Linked DNA regions of Homo sapiens: all the other regions are linked to region 3. The links are contacts of gene promoters, found by promoter capture Hi-C in blood cells and fetal thymus (Javierre and others, 2016). All regions are on one chromosome and are shown on one strand. The core of a region is centred on a gene start or on the middle of the fragment in contact, and the rest is flanking DNA. Distances in the headings are between cores, read along the strand shown. Region 1 overlaps SOS2 (SOS Ras/Rho guanine nucleotide exchange factor 2). Region 2 overlaps LINC01599 (long intergenic non-protein coding RNA 1599). Region 3 holds the start of DNAAF2 (dynein axonemal assembly factor 2).

What was found. The method cuts DNA at HindIII sites, captures the fragments that hold promoters and counts their contacts. A CHiCAGO score of 5 or more calls a contact.
Region 1: a fragment that was not itself captured here is called in contact with the fragment with the promoter of DNAAF2 in region 3 in 1 of 17 cell types (erythroblasts); the score reaches 6.1 in erythroblasts.
Region 2: a contact is called between a fragment that was not itself captured here and the fragment with the promoter of DNAAF2 in region 3, in 2 of 17 cell types (fetal thymus and naive CD8 T cells). The highest score is 6.6, in fetal thymus.

Annotation. Positions count from the first base shown.
Region 1 is chr14:50,140,913-50,144,936 of GRCh38, reverse strand. All of the region lies in intron 16 of SOS2 (SOS Ras/Rho guanine nucleotide exchange factor 2), which reads left to right. Among named protein-coding and RNA genes, the nearest start is that of VCPKMT, 26 kb to the right of the region's middle. The HindIII fragment of the contact is 729 bases long and covers 1,624-2,352 here.
Region 2 is chr14:50,094,484-50,098,840 of GRCh38, reverse strand. The region is part of intron 1 of LINC01599 (long intergenic non-protein coding RNA 1599); the gene reads left to right. Among named protein-coding and RNA genes, the nearest start is that of LINC01599, 8.4 kb to the left of the region's middle. The HindIII fragment of the contact is 908 bases long and covers 1,737-2,644 here.
Region 3 is chr14:49,633,934-49,637,910 of GRCh38, reverse strand. DNAAF2 (dynein axonemal assembly factor 2) reads left to right here and starts at 2,667. Exons shown (of 3, transcript NM_018139.3): 1 at 2,667-3,977. The coding sequence starts at 2,762. RefSeq lists silencers at 3,046-3,095, 3,326-3,565, 3,836-3,977 and enhancers at 3,023-3,783, 3,596-3,835. The HindIII fragment of the contact is 6,803 bases long and covers 1-3,977 here.

The DNA.
Region 1 (4,024 bases), core at 739-3,238, 510 kb before region 3:
AATATGAGACTTGCACTGCCGTGTAATGTACTTAACCTAAATGTAATGAAGTTCCAAGTGGATTTATTCAATAACACATTGATTGATAGTCTCAAATGACAAAGGATTTTAAATATAAAAATACAAGTAATGTCTTAATTACCTTTAGGTAGTCAACAATAGTATAACACGGGAAGAACTATTTCAAAAACTTAAATTTGGCCAGGCGTGGTGGCTCACGCCTGTAATCCCAGCACTTTAGGAGGCTGAGGCGGGTCGATCACCTGAGCTCAGGAGTTCGAAACCAACCTGGACAACGCGGCGAAACCCCATCTCTACTAAAAATACAAAAATTAGCTGGGCATGGTGGCGCACGCCTGTTATCCCAGCTACTTCGGAGGCTGAGACAGGAGAATTGCTTGAACTCAGGAGGCAGCATTTGCAGTGAGCTGAGATCACACCACTGCACTCCAGGCTGGGCGACACAGTGAGACTCAGTCTCAAAAAATTAAAAAATATATATATTTTTTAAATTATAAAATATGTGTTTAACATGTACTATTGAAAATTCAGGAGATATAGAAAATAGGAAGATATTTTGCATATATATTTTAATAACAAAATTGAGATTACATTGTGCATAGATTTTTATGGCCCTTTTCTCATAAACAGTTTTCTATTTTTTTATTAGCTTATCTTCAAAAACAAGATTTTAATGGCATCAAGGTTTTCTATCATGGATAAATCATAATTTATTCCAACAGTAGATTGTGGGACAATTAAGTTATTTCTGATTTTTTTCTGTGATAATTTATCATGGAATATTCATATGTAGAAGTCTTTTTAAGAGCTTGATTATTTCCCTAGAAATAATCTAGGGGTGGAAATCCTGGGTCTGAGTATTTATATACTTTAAGACTTTAAATACTTTTGCCAAGGTGTTTCGTAGCAGGATACGATAAATGCCCCTTGGTATTATGTATTATATTAAAAGCTTTTGGCCAGGTGTGGGGGCTCTCACCTGTAATCCCAACACTTTGGGAGGCAGAGACAGGAGGATCACTTGAGCCCAGGAGTTTGAGACCAGCCTGGGCAACATAGGGAGACCACATCTCTACAAAAAAAAAAAAAAAATAGCCAGGCATGGTGTTGCATGCCTCTGGCGGGGGCAGAAATCGCACTGCATTTTTAAATTGTATGTTAAAAAATAACTAGTGAGGCTGGGCTCAGTGGCTCACCTGTAATCCTAGCACTTTGGGAGGCCGAGGCGGGTGGATCACCTGAGGTCAGGAGTTCGATACCAGCCTGGCTAACATGATGAAACCCCATCTCTACTAAAAGTACAAAAATTAGTCAGGCATGGTGGTATGTGCTGGTTTGCAATCCCAGCTACTCAGGAGGCTGAGGCAGGGGTATCGCTTGAACCTGCCTGGTGGAGGTTGCAGTGAGCCAAGATTGCCCCACTGCACTCTAGCCTGGGCAACAGAGTGAAACTTGTTCTCAAAATAAATAATAACTAGTGAGGTTGAATATGTATTTATTGGGTACTTTATGATTTATGTATTCATTGCCTCTCTCATTTTTGGGGGAGGGTGTTTTCATTTTGTTGATTTTTTTTTTTTTTTTTTCCTAAAGAGTCAAGCTTGCTCTGTCACCCAGGCTGGAGTGCCAGTGGCATGATCATAGCCCACTGCAGTCTCGAACTCCTGGGCTCAAGGGATCGTCCTGTCCCAGCCTCTTGAGTAGCTGCGATTACAGGCATTAGTCAGCATGTCCAGCTGCATTTTATTCATTTATATGGATTTTTCATATATTAAAGATATTAAAACTTAGACTGTACATATATTCTCATTTCTGTTTGTCTTTTATCTGCTTTTTAATTTAAAAAATGTATAATGCTTTGACATAAGGACGTTTTATCATTTTTATTTAGTTGCACATATCAGTCTCTTCACTTATGGTTTCTTCCTTTGCTTTTGTACCTGGAAAGACTTTTTTTAAGTAAAGGATAACAAGTTAGAAACTCAGCCATATAAATACTGCTTTTGGGAATGTGCGTTTTTACAATCTTTCTGGAAAGCAGTCTAACAATATATGTTAAAATTAAAAATGTGCATACTCTTAGGACCCAGAATTGCAAAGAAATAAACACACCAGAGTATAAAGTTATATGTACAAAGATATAGTTACTGCAGCATTAGTTGTAGTAGCAGAAAACAGGAAACAACCTGAATGTCTATCAGTAAGAGAATGATTAAATACATCCTCTTATACCTCTATTGTAGAATATTGTTCAGCTATACAACAAAGTGAATGGGATCTATGTGTATTGTTGTGGAAGAACATTTGTGATATTTCAGCAGGGGAAAAGCTTCAGAATGACTATAATATTATTCCATTTTAGTATCACAAAGCAGAGCAAACCCCAAACCTCTAAGTGGAACTGGATAAGTATTGAGAATAATGTGGGAGGTTACATACTCCTCTTTTAACATTATTTATTTATTTTTTTTAGTGGGTTGTTATTAGAGGGGAATAGAGGAAAAACTGCTTTATACATATATTTTTCTGTTTGGGTGTTTGCATTTTATTGATTTGTATGAACTTTATATGTTAAAGATATTAATACTTAGTCAAATATTATGAAATAGGCCGGGGGCAGTGGCTCATGCCTGTAATCCCAACACTTTGGGAGGCTGAGGTGGGTGGATCACATGAGGCCAGGAGTTTGAGACCAGCCTGGCCAACATGATGAAACCCCGTCTTTACTAAAAATATAAAAATTACCCAGGCATGCTGGCGGGCGCCTGTAATCCCAGCTACTTGGGAGGCTGAGGCAGGAGAATCACTTGAACCCGGGAGGCAGAGGTTCCAGTGAGCCGAGATCGCACCACTGCACTCCAGCCTGTGCGACAGAGCAAGATTCCATCTCAAAAAAAAAAAAAAAGAAATATTAATGTATTTAATAAATGTGTCATAAATTGAATGCCTATATCTGTAGGCCTTTTGTTGGTCTCTCTGTTCTGTTCCTTTGATCTATTTGATCACTCTTGTGCCAGTGCCACTAGTCTAAACTATCATAACTTTATAGTAGTCCTTGATAGAGAAGAGTAGGGCAAATCCTCGCCAATCTTACTCTTTTTCAGGAGGAACGTATTCTTGGTTCTTTGTTCTCCTATATACATTTTAGAATCAATTTAAGCTCCATTTTTTTAAATTGGCATTTTGATAGGAGTTGCATTGGCTCTCTAAATCCAATTACAGATTAGTGAAGAACTGACATTTTTATAGTAACAAGTCTTTTCAACTGTGAACATCGTTTATCTCTTTATTTACTCAGTTAATAAAGTTTTGTGGGGTTTTTTTTGTTTTGACAGAGATCGCATACCTCTTTTGCTAGATGTATATTAGAATTATTTTGTTTTCAGTGACCCTTAGAGACAGGGTCATGCTCTGTCACCCAGGCTGGAGTACAGTGGCATGATCATAGCTTACTGCAGCCTCCTATTCCCAGGCTCAAACAGTCTTCCTACCTTAGTCTCCTGAGTAGTGGGGACTATAGGCACGTGCCACCCTGCTCAGCTAATTTTTTAAATTTTATGTGGAGATTGGGCGTTGCTATGTTGCGCAGACTGGTTTCGAACTCCTGGCCTCAAACTATTCTCCCACCCCAACATCTCAAAGTGCTGGGATTACAGGTGTGAGCCACTGCACTTGACCAGAATTTTTTTTTTTTTTTTTTTTTTTTTTTTTTGAGACAGAGTCTCGCTCTGTCACCCAGGCTGGAGTGCAGTGGCACAATCTCGGCTCACGGCAAGCTCCACCTCCCAGGTTCATGGCATTCTCCTGCCTCAGCCTCCCGAGTAGCTGGGACTACAGGCACCCGCCACCACGCCCGGCTAATTTTTTGCATTTTTAGTAGAGACGGGGTTTCACCGTGTTAGCCAGGATGGTCTTGATCCCCTGACCTCATGATCCGCCCGCCTCAGCCTCCCAAAGTGCTGGGATTACAGGCGTGAGCCACTGCACCTGGCCTCAGAATTTT
Region 2 (4,357 bases), core at 941-3,440, 460 kb before region 3:
AGCTAAACACAAGCGGTCCTCTGTATATGTGAGTTCCATGGGTTTCAACCAAACACAGGTTGAAAATATTCGGGAAAAAAAATAGATGGTTGTGTCTGTACTGAACATGTACAGACGGAGTTTTTCTTGTCATTATTCCCTATACAAGACAGTATAACAACTATTTACATAACATTTACATTGTATTAGGTATTATAAGTAGTCTAGAGATGATTTAAACTATATGGGGGTAGGGGGTGGGTGTGGAGGGCAAACACATAGCAAATGGATGCTGGGCTTAATACCTAGGTGATGGGATGATCTGTGCAGCAAACCACCATGACACACGTTTACCTATGCAACAAACCTGCACATCCTGCACATGTACCCCTGAATTTAAAAGCTGAAGATAAAAAAATAAATTCAGTCCAATAAAAAAGTAATAAGCTATATGGGAGGATGTGTATAGGTTATATGCAAATACTACACTATTTTATACAAAGGACTTGAACATCTGTGGATTTTGATATCTGTGGGTGGTCCTGGAATCAATTCCCCATGGATACTGAGGGATGACCGTATATAGGTTTGGGGGCAGAAGAGAGGGTGGACTGAGAAAGATGATGTCTTTTCTTTTTTTTTTTTTTTTTTTTTGGCAAGACAGAGTCTCATTCTGTAGCCCAGGCTGGAGTGCAGTGGTGCTATCTTGGCTTACTGCAACCTCTGTCTCCCAGATTCAAGCGATTCTCCTGCCTCACCCTCCTGAGTAGCTGGGATTACAGGCGCGTGCCACCACACCCGGCTAATTTTTGTATTTTTAGTAGAGACGGGGTTTCGCCATGTTGTCCGGGCTGGTCTCGAACTCCTGACCTCAGGCCATCCACCTGCCTCAGCCTCTCAAAGTGCTGGGATTACAGACGTGAGCCACCGTGCCCAGCCAAGTTGAGGTCTTATAGATCACCCCAAATGTATAGATTGGGGGAAAGCCCAGGTTAAGGCCCTGGGAAGTACCAAAATTCAAGGAATTATTGGAAAAAAACAGAACACTTAAAGGTGAAATACTGAAATATCTTCTGCCTTGACTCCAGGGACAGTCAGTTCTCAAACAGGTTGATGGTCATATAGCTCCCATTTTTGTATTTCATACACTGAGACTTCCAACCTGACTTTCATCTGCCAGGATTAGATTTTATACATCTGCCCCCAAGTCAACATAATGATGCTGCCTGCTTAGCAGCTTAGCTATCTGCAGCAGTGCCATCTTTGCACCTTGGTACTTGGGCAGCTGTTTTAATACCTGGTCCTTGTTCTAAAAAAAATGAGAGAAGACCCCAAAATGAATATGTTGTTACTAATGATAAGCAACTCAGGTCTCAGATGAATACAACTTAGGATGGAAGCCACTGGTATTCAGAAAGCAGTAAATCTTGTAGCCTCAATAGCTGCTCGTTGGACTTAGTTTGATTGTGAGTTCACTTATGAAAAGGAATGAGGAAAATATGAGTATAGAACCAATATTGGAAATATTGTTGAACATGTGGATCTATTTCTTTTTCTTTTTGATACTGGAACTTTTCTCCTATTTGACTTAAGTAGGTCTGACTTTCTCCGCCCAGCGTCTGGTTGCTCCTCCGTCACCATCCTTCGTTCCTTTTCCTTCTCTGTTGCTTAACTCACAATTCCCTGGGGCTCTGTCTTTTGACCACTCACCTCTGCACACATAGATCTTGCAATTTTCATGATTCCAACTACAAGCTTATTGTAGAGGCCCCCTCTCTAGACCTCTAGCTCCGATCCCTCTCTTAAGTCTGACCTCTCCCCTTCAGCTGCCTGCCTGATGTCTTCCTTTGCTTGCCCAACCAAGAGTATGTCTTAGCAAAATTTCTGCAAAAATAGACTCTTCTGCCTCATATTCTTGTTTTACTAATGGCATCACCATTCTTTTAGCATTTCTAATTTCTTCTGCCTCACATGAACTCAGCGTGTCATACACTGATCTGTGATGGGTTCTCACAGTCTTCCCCCACTTTCCATCTTCACGGCCATCATCACCTCAGGTTGGGCCTCACTCCTCTAATAGTCTCCCCACCTTCAATATCTCTCTACACTTATCTGTGCAGGCGGTGGTGGCAGAGCGTACTCCTAACCTGGGGTTCCAGACTTTTCATCATGCTACTCCCAATAGCCCACCAAGTTCAGGAGAGACTTGGGTTTCCTGACCGAGGCTAACCCACAGGATTCCCCCTGCATAAGAGGCCCTTCTTTTCTGGGGTAGCTAGTGCCAAGGATAAAGTAAGTTTTGAGCTGCTCAAGAGTAAAAGTCAAGATAGAGGAAAGCAGAGTCTAGAAGCAAACAGAGAAATTAGAACGTTTTTCCGATGATTCTGTTTGAGTCTCTGAAGCCAGCTATGTCTAAAGCCACCGCAGCTCCTGGACTTCCCAGTTACCTCACCTAGTTAACTCTGTTCTGCTGGTTTGGGGCTGGGTTTCTCTCCCTTGCAGTGGATCAGATCCTAACTGGTAGAGCATTCAAACCTTTCAGCCCATTAAACCCTACTCTTAAGATCCTTCTCAATCATTACCTTCCCAGAAAGTAATCTGCTTTTTAAGTTTGCATTTTGTCCATAATACCCACCAGATCATCTTAACAGTTGATTTAGAAGCTTTCTAGAATAGTGTTGGTTGCTGATCATACTGTGGAGATCTTATCAAACTACAAAAGTAAGCGTTATGAAACTCATCAGAAAGTAAAAGGGAGGAAACAAAAACCTGCTGTGGGAGTGGTTTGATTTAAATGTAACAAAAGAGGAAATGTACTTCTTTGCACCCAGAAAGTGTTCAAGCCTGCACCTCTCCATCCCCCAATCAAGGGATCATTATTTAGTGAGAATAACTCAAGAGATGAGAAAATGAGTAGCTTACATAAGGAGGTAGATTCTGGGGCTTGGTTCTAACCCCCATGATTATGGGGGTTCCTGAGAAGTGGAGGGAGAATTGCAACATGTATTAGGAGAGGTACTTGGGCAGTGAGGTTTGCCATCTGGAGAGCAAGTGTTTTTTTGTTTGTTTGTTTTGTTTTTTCTTTTCGTTTTTTCTGAGACAGAGTTTCGGTCTTGTCGCCCAGGCTGGAGTGCAATGGCGCAATCTCGGCTCACTGCCGCAACCTCCGCCTCCTGGGTTCAAATGATTCTCCTACCTCAGCCTTCTGAGTAGCTGGGATCACAGGCATGTGCCACCATGCCCAGCTAATTTTGTATTTTTAGAAGAGACAGAGTTTCTGCATGTTGATCAGGCTGGTCTGGAACTCCCGACCTCAGGTGATCTGCCTGCCTTGGCCTATCCACCTGCCTCGGACTCCTAAAGTGCTGGGATTACAGGTGTAAGCCACTGTGCCTGGCCTTTTTTCTTTTTTAAAACTTATTAAAACAAACAAATCAACAACAACAACAACAAAATGAGGTCTTGCTACTTTGCCTAGGCTAGTCTTGAACTCCTGGGCTCAAGCGATTCTCCTACCTCAGCCTCCCAAAGTGCTGAGATTACAGGCATGAGCCACTGCACCTGGCCAGGAGAGCAAGTTTTAAAACTGGCCAGGTCACTATTCACAATAGCAAAGACTTGGAACCAACCCAAATGTCCATCAATGATAGACTAGATTAAGAAAATGTGGCACATATACACTATAGAATACTATGCAGCCATAAAAAAGGATGAGTTCATGTCCTTTGTAGGGACATGGATGAAGCTGGAAACCATCATTCTCAGCAAACTATCGCAAGGGCAGAAAACCAAACACCGCATGTTCTCACTCATAGGTGGGAATTGAACAATGATAACACTTGGACACAGGAAGGGGAACACAACACACAGGGTCCTGTTGTGGGGTCGGGGGAGGGAGGAGGGATAGCATTAGGAGATATACCTAATGTTAAACGATGAGTTAATGGGTGCAGCACACCAACATGGCACATGTATACTTATGTAACAAACCTGCACGTTGTGCACATGTACCCTAGAACTTAAAGTATAAAAAAAAAAGAAAATGGTTGTGAATATTTTGAGTCTAATAATAAATTTTGCCTTTCTTTAAAAAAAAAAAAAAATCTGACCAGGTGTTGTAACTCACGCTTGTTGTAATCCCAGTACTTTGGGAGGCCGAGGCAGGAGGATCATTTGAGACCAGCCTGGATAATGTAGTGGGACCTTGTCTTTACTAAAAATAAATTTCAAAAAATTAACCTGGCGTGGTGGCACATACCTGAAGTTCCAGCTACTGGACAGGCTGAGGTGGGGGCAGTGCTTGAGCCCAGGAGATGAGCCAGCAGTCAGCTATGATCGTGCCACTGTGCTCCAACCTGGGCGACAGAGCACGAACTTA
Region 3 (3,977 bases), core at 1,418-3,917:
GCCATGTTTTGTCTATTATATGACAGAGTCATATGTATTATTTTACATCTGGTTTCTTTCAAGCACCATTATGTTAATGATACTCATCTATACTGTTGAGTAGTGCATTGTGTGGGTGGATATTTACATTTATCCATTCTACTATGAATGAGAATTTGGGTTGCTTCCAGAATTTGTCAACTATGAAATAGTGCCGCTATGAATACACACATTGTAGTACATGTGTTTTGGTGGGGATATGTGTTTCTGTTGAATGTGTATCTGGGAGAATTTCATTGTCGTAAGCCTTATGTTAACAGTGTTCCAATATATACTCCCAGGATATGAAAGTGCAATTGCTGGCTGGGCATGGTGGCTTGTGCCTGTAATCCCAGCACTTTGGGAAGCCGAGGTGGGCGGATCACCTGAGCTCAGGAGTTGGAGACCAGCCTGACCAACATGGTGAAATCCCATCTCTACTAAAAAATACAAAAATTAGCTGGGCGCAGTGGTAGGTGCCTGCAATCCCAGCTACTTGGGAGGCTGAGGCAGGAGAATTGTTTGAACCCAGGAGGCGGAGGTTGCAGTGAGCCAAGATCGCGCCAAAGCACCCCAGTCTAGGCGACAGAGCAAGACTCTGTCTCAAAAAAAAAAGCAATGCAACTGCTTCACATCTTTGTTAATTACCTATATAATAAGTGCAATAAGCACACAATAAATATCTGTTGAAAGGACTAATTTGAACACAGATGGCATTTAAAACTATGGGCTTGGATAAGACATCTTGGAAGAAATGTGATTAGGTAAGAGGGCTGATGAACAAAGCCTTGGGCAACTCCCACATTTGCAGAACTGGCAGGAGCATAAAGGAGGAAAATGGGAGAGCTTGGAGTTCTGCAAAACATGAGAAAAATGTGTTTCGAAGGGGCAGTCAACTGCTTTGAATGCTTCCAAGAGACCATAAGATAAGGCAGTGGTTTGGGAAAAGAGGATTCAGGAGTTCTGATCTTGGTCATTTCAAGCCTGAGTAGCTTATGCATTAATCACTCAAATGGACACCTCAAACGTGCAGCTGGATATAGGAGTGTAAAATCTGAGTCTAAGACAAGTATTTGTGAGTGTAAATATATTTCTGAAGGAGAGTATAGATGGGTAAGAGATTGGGTCCCAGTTTTGGGGCATTTCCATGTAGAAGTTGAAAAGAAGTAGATACCTACAGAGCAAAACTATGAGAGTGATGAGACAGAAGAGAAATCTGGAAAGTGTCTTGTCACTGAGGTAATGCCAACATCAACTGTGTTAAATGTTGCTGAGAATAGAAAAATGATCACTGAATTGACCAATTACCAATGAATAAATAATTACTCCAGTAAATAAATATACTTCCATATGATCATTTTGAATGGTTGCACAAAACTCTGTTGCGTGGCTCTACCAAAACCTGCTCAATCAGTTCCATTGTTGAATTTGTAGATTCTTCTCAAACCTTTAGAATCATAAATGATGTCACCTTGAGAATGTTCTAAGAGTATTGTGTCAAATACTCTAAGGGCATTTGGGTCAAAAAAATATGCACATTAGAAAGGTTTTAGGCCGGGCGCGGTGGCTCATGCCTGTAATCCCAGCACTTTGGGAGGCTGAGGTGGGCAGATCACATGAGGTCAAGAGTGGGAGACCAGCCTGGCCAACATGGTGAAATCCCATCCCTACTAAAAATACAAAACTTAGCCGGACGTGGTGGTGAGTCACTGTAATCCCAGCTACCTGGGAGGCTGAGGCAGGGAGAATTGCCTGAACCCGGGAGGCGGAGGTTGCAGTGAGCCAAGACTGCACCACTGCACTCCAGCCTGGGTGACAGAGTGAGACAGCCTCAAAAAAAAAAAAAAAAAAAAAAAGGTTTTGGACCTGGTGTGGTGGCTCATGCCTGTAATCCTATAATCCCAGCACTCTGGGAGGCCGAGGCGGGCGGATCACGAAGTCAGGAGATCGAGACCATCCTGGCTAACACGGTGAAACCCTGTCTCTAGTAAAAATACAAAACATTAGCTGGGCGTAGTGGCAGGCGCCTGTAGTCCCAGCTGCTCGGGAGGCTGAGGCAGGAGAGTGGCGTGAACCTGGGAGGTGGAGCTTGCAGTGAGCCGAAACTGCGCCACTGCACTCCAGCCTGGGTGACAGAGCGAGACTCTGTCTCAAAAAAAGAAAAACAAAACAAAACAAAACAAAGTACGGTGGTGGGTTGGTTTGAAGAATCTAAGAGGGCTATTTCTGGCATTTCCACTATTCCACCATGATTTCCTTGAGAGACTTGCTCTGTCGCCCAGGCCGGAGTGCAGTGGCGCGATCTTGGCTCACCGCAAGAGCTCTGCCTCCTGGGTTTCACCCCATTCTACTGCCTCAGCCTTCCGAGTAGCTGGGACTACAGGCACCCGCCACCATGCCCGGCTAATTTTTTGTATTTTTAGTAGAGACGGGGTTTCACCGTGTTAGCCAGGATGGTCTCGATCTCCTGACCTCGTGATCCGCCCGCCTAGGCTTCCCAAAGTGCTGGGATTACAGGCCTGAGCCACCGCGCCCGGCCTATTCCACCATGATCTCTACCCCTCCTCCCGAATGTTAGTGGTGTAACTATGACAACAAGCACGCGCTGCTCAAGGCTCAATTTTCCAGCCGTTACCGACCTCCACCGCGTCACTGTACGCTGCCCAGAAACTCTGAGGCGGATCCCCCAACCCAGTGTCAGACTGATCGCCTTTGGCCCGAGGGCGAGGAGCCACAGGACAGTATGGCCAAAGCGGCGGCCTCCTCGTCGCTGGAGGACTTGGACCTGAGCGGAGAGGAGGTCCAGCGGCTCACCTCCGCCTTCCAGGACCCGGAGTTCCGGCGAATGTTCTCCCAGTACGCCGAGGAGCTCACCGACCCGGAGAACCGGCGGCGCTACGAGGCGGAGATCACCGCGCTAGAGCGTGAGCGCGGGGTGGAAGTGCGGTTCGTGCACCCGGAGCCCGGCCATGTGCTGCGCACCAGCCTGGACGGGGCGCGGCGCTGCTTTGTGAATGTCTGCAGCAACGCGTTGGTGGGCGCGCCCAGCAGCCGGCCCGGCTCCGGTGGCGACCGGGGCGCAGCTCCTGGCAGCCACTGGTCCCTGCCCTACAGCCTGGCGCCCGGCCGCGAGTACGCGGGGCGCAGCAGCAGCCGCTACATGGTCTACGACGTGGTCTTCCATCCAGACGCGCTTGCGCTGGCCCGGCGGCACGAGGGCTTCCGCCAGATGCTGGACGCCACGGCCCTGGAGGCCGTCGAGAAGCAGTTCGGCGTGAAGCTGGACCGCAGGAATGCCAAGACCCTGAAGGCCAAGTATAAGGGGACCCCAGAGGCTGCGGTGCTGCGCACGCCCCTGCCCGGGGTCATCCCCGCAAGGCCTGACGGGGAGCCGAAGGGTCCTCTCCCGGACTTCCCCTACCCTTACCAGTACCCGGCAGCCCCCGGGCCCCGGGCGCCCTCCCCTCCGGAAGCGGCCTTGCAGCCCGCCCCCACCGAGCCTCGCTACAGCGTGGTGCAGCGCCACCACGTGGACCTCCAGGATTACCGCTGCTCCAGGGACTCAGCCCCGAGCCCCGTGCCCCATGAGCTGGTGATCACCATCGAACTGCCGCTGTTGCGCTCGGCCGAGCAGGCGGCGCTGGAGGTAACGAGAAAGCTGCTGTGCCTCGACTCGAGGAAACCTGACTACCGGCTGCGGCTCTCGCTCCCGTACCCAGTGGACGATGGCCGCGGCAAGGCACAATTCAACAAGGCCCGGCGGCAGCTGGTGGTTACGCTGCCAGTGGTGCTGCCGGCCGCGCGCCGGGAGCCCGCTGTCGCCGTCGCCGCCGCCGCGCCGGAAGAGTCCGCGGACCGGTCCGGAACTGACGGCCAGGCCTGCGCTTCCGCTCGCGAGGGGGAGGCGGGACCCGCGAGGAGTCGCGCGGAGGACGGAGGCCACGATACCTGCGTGGCTG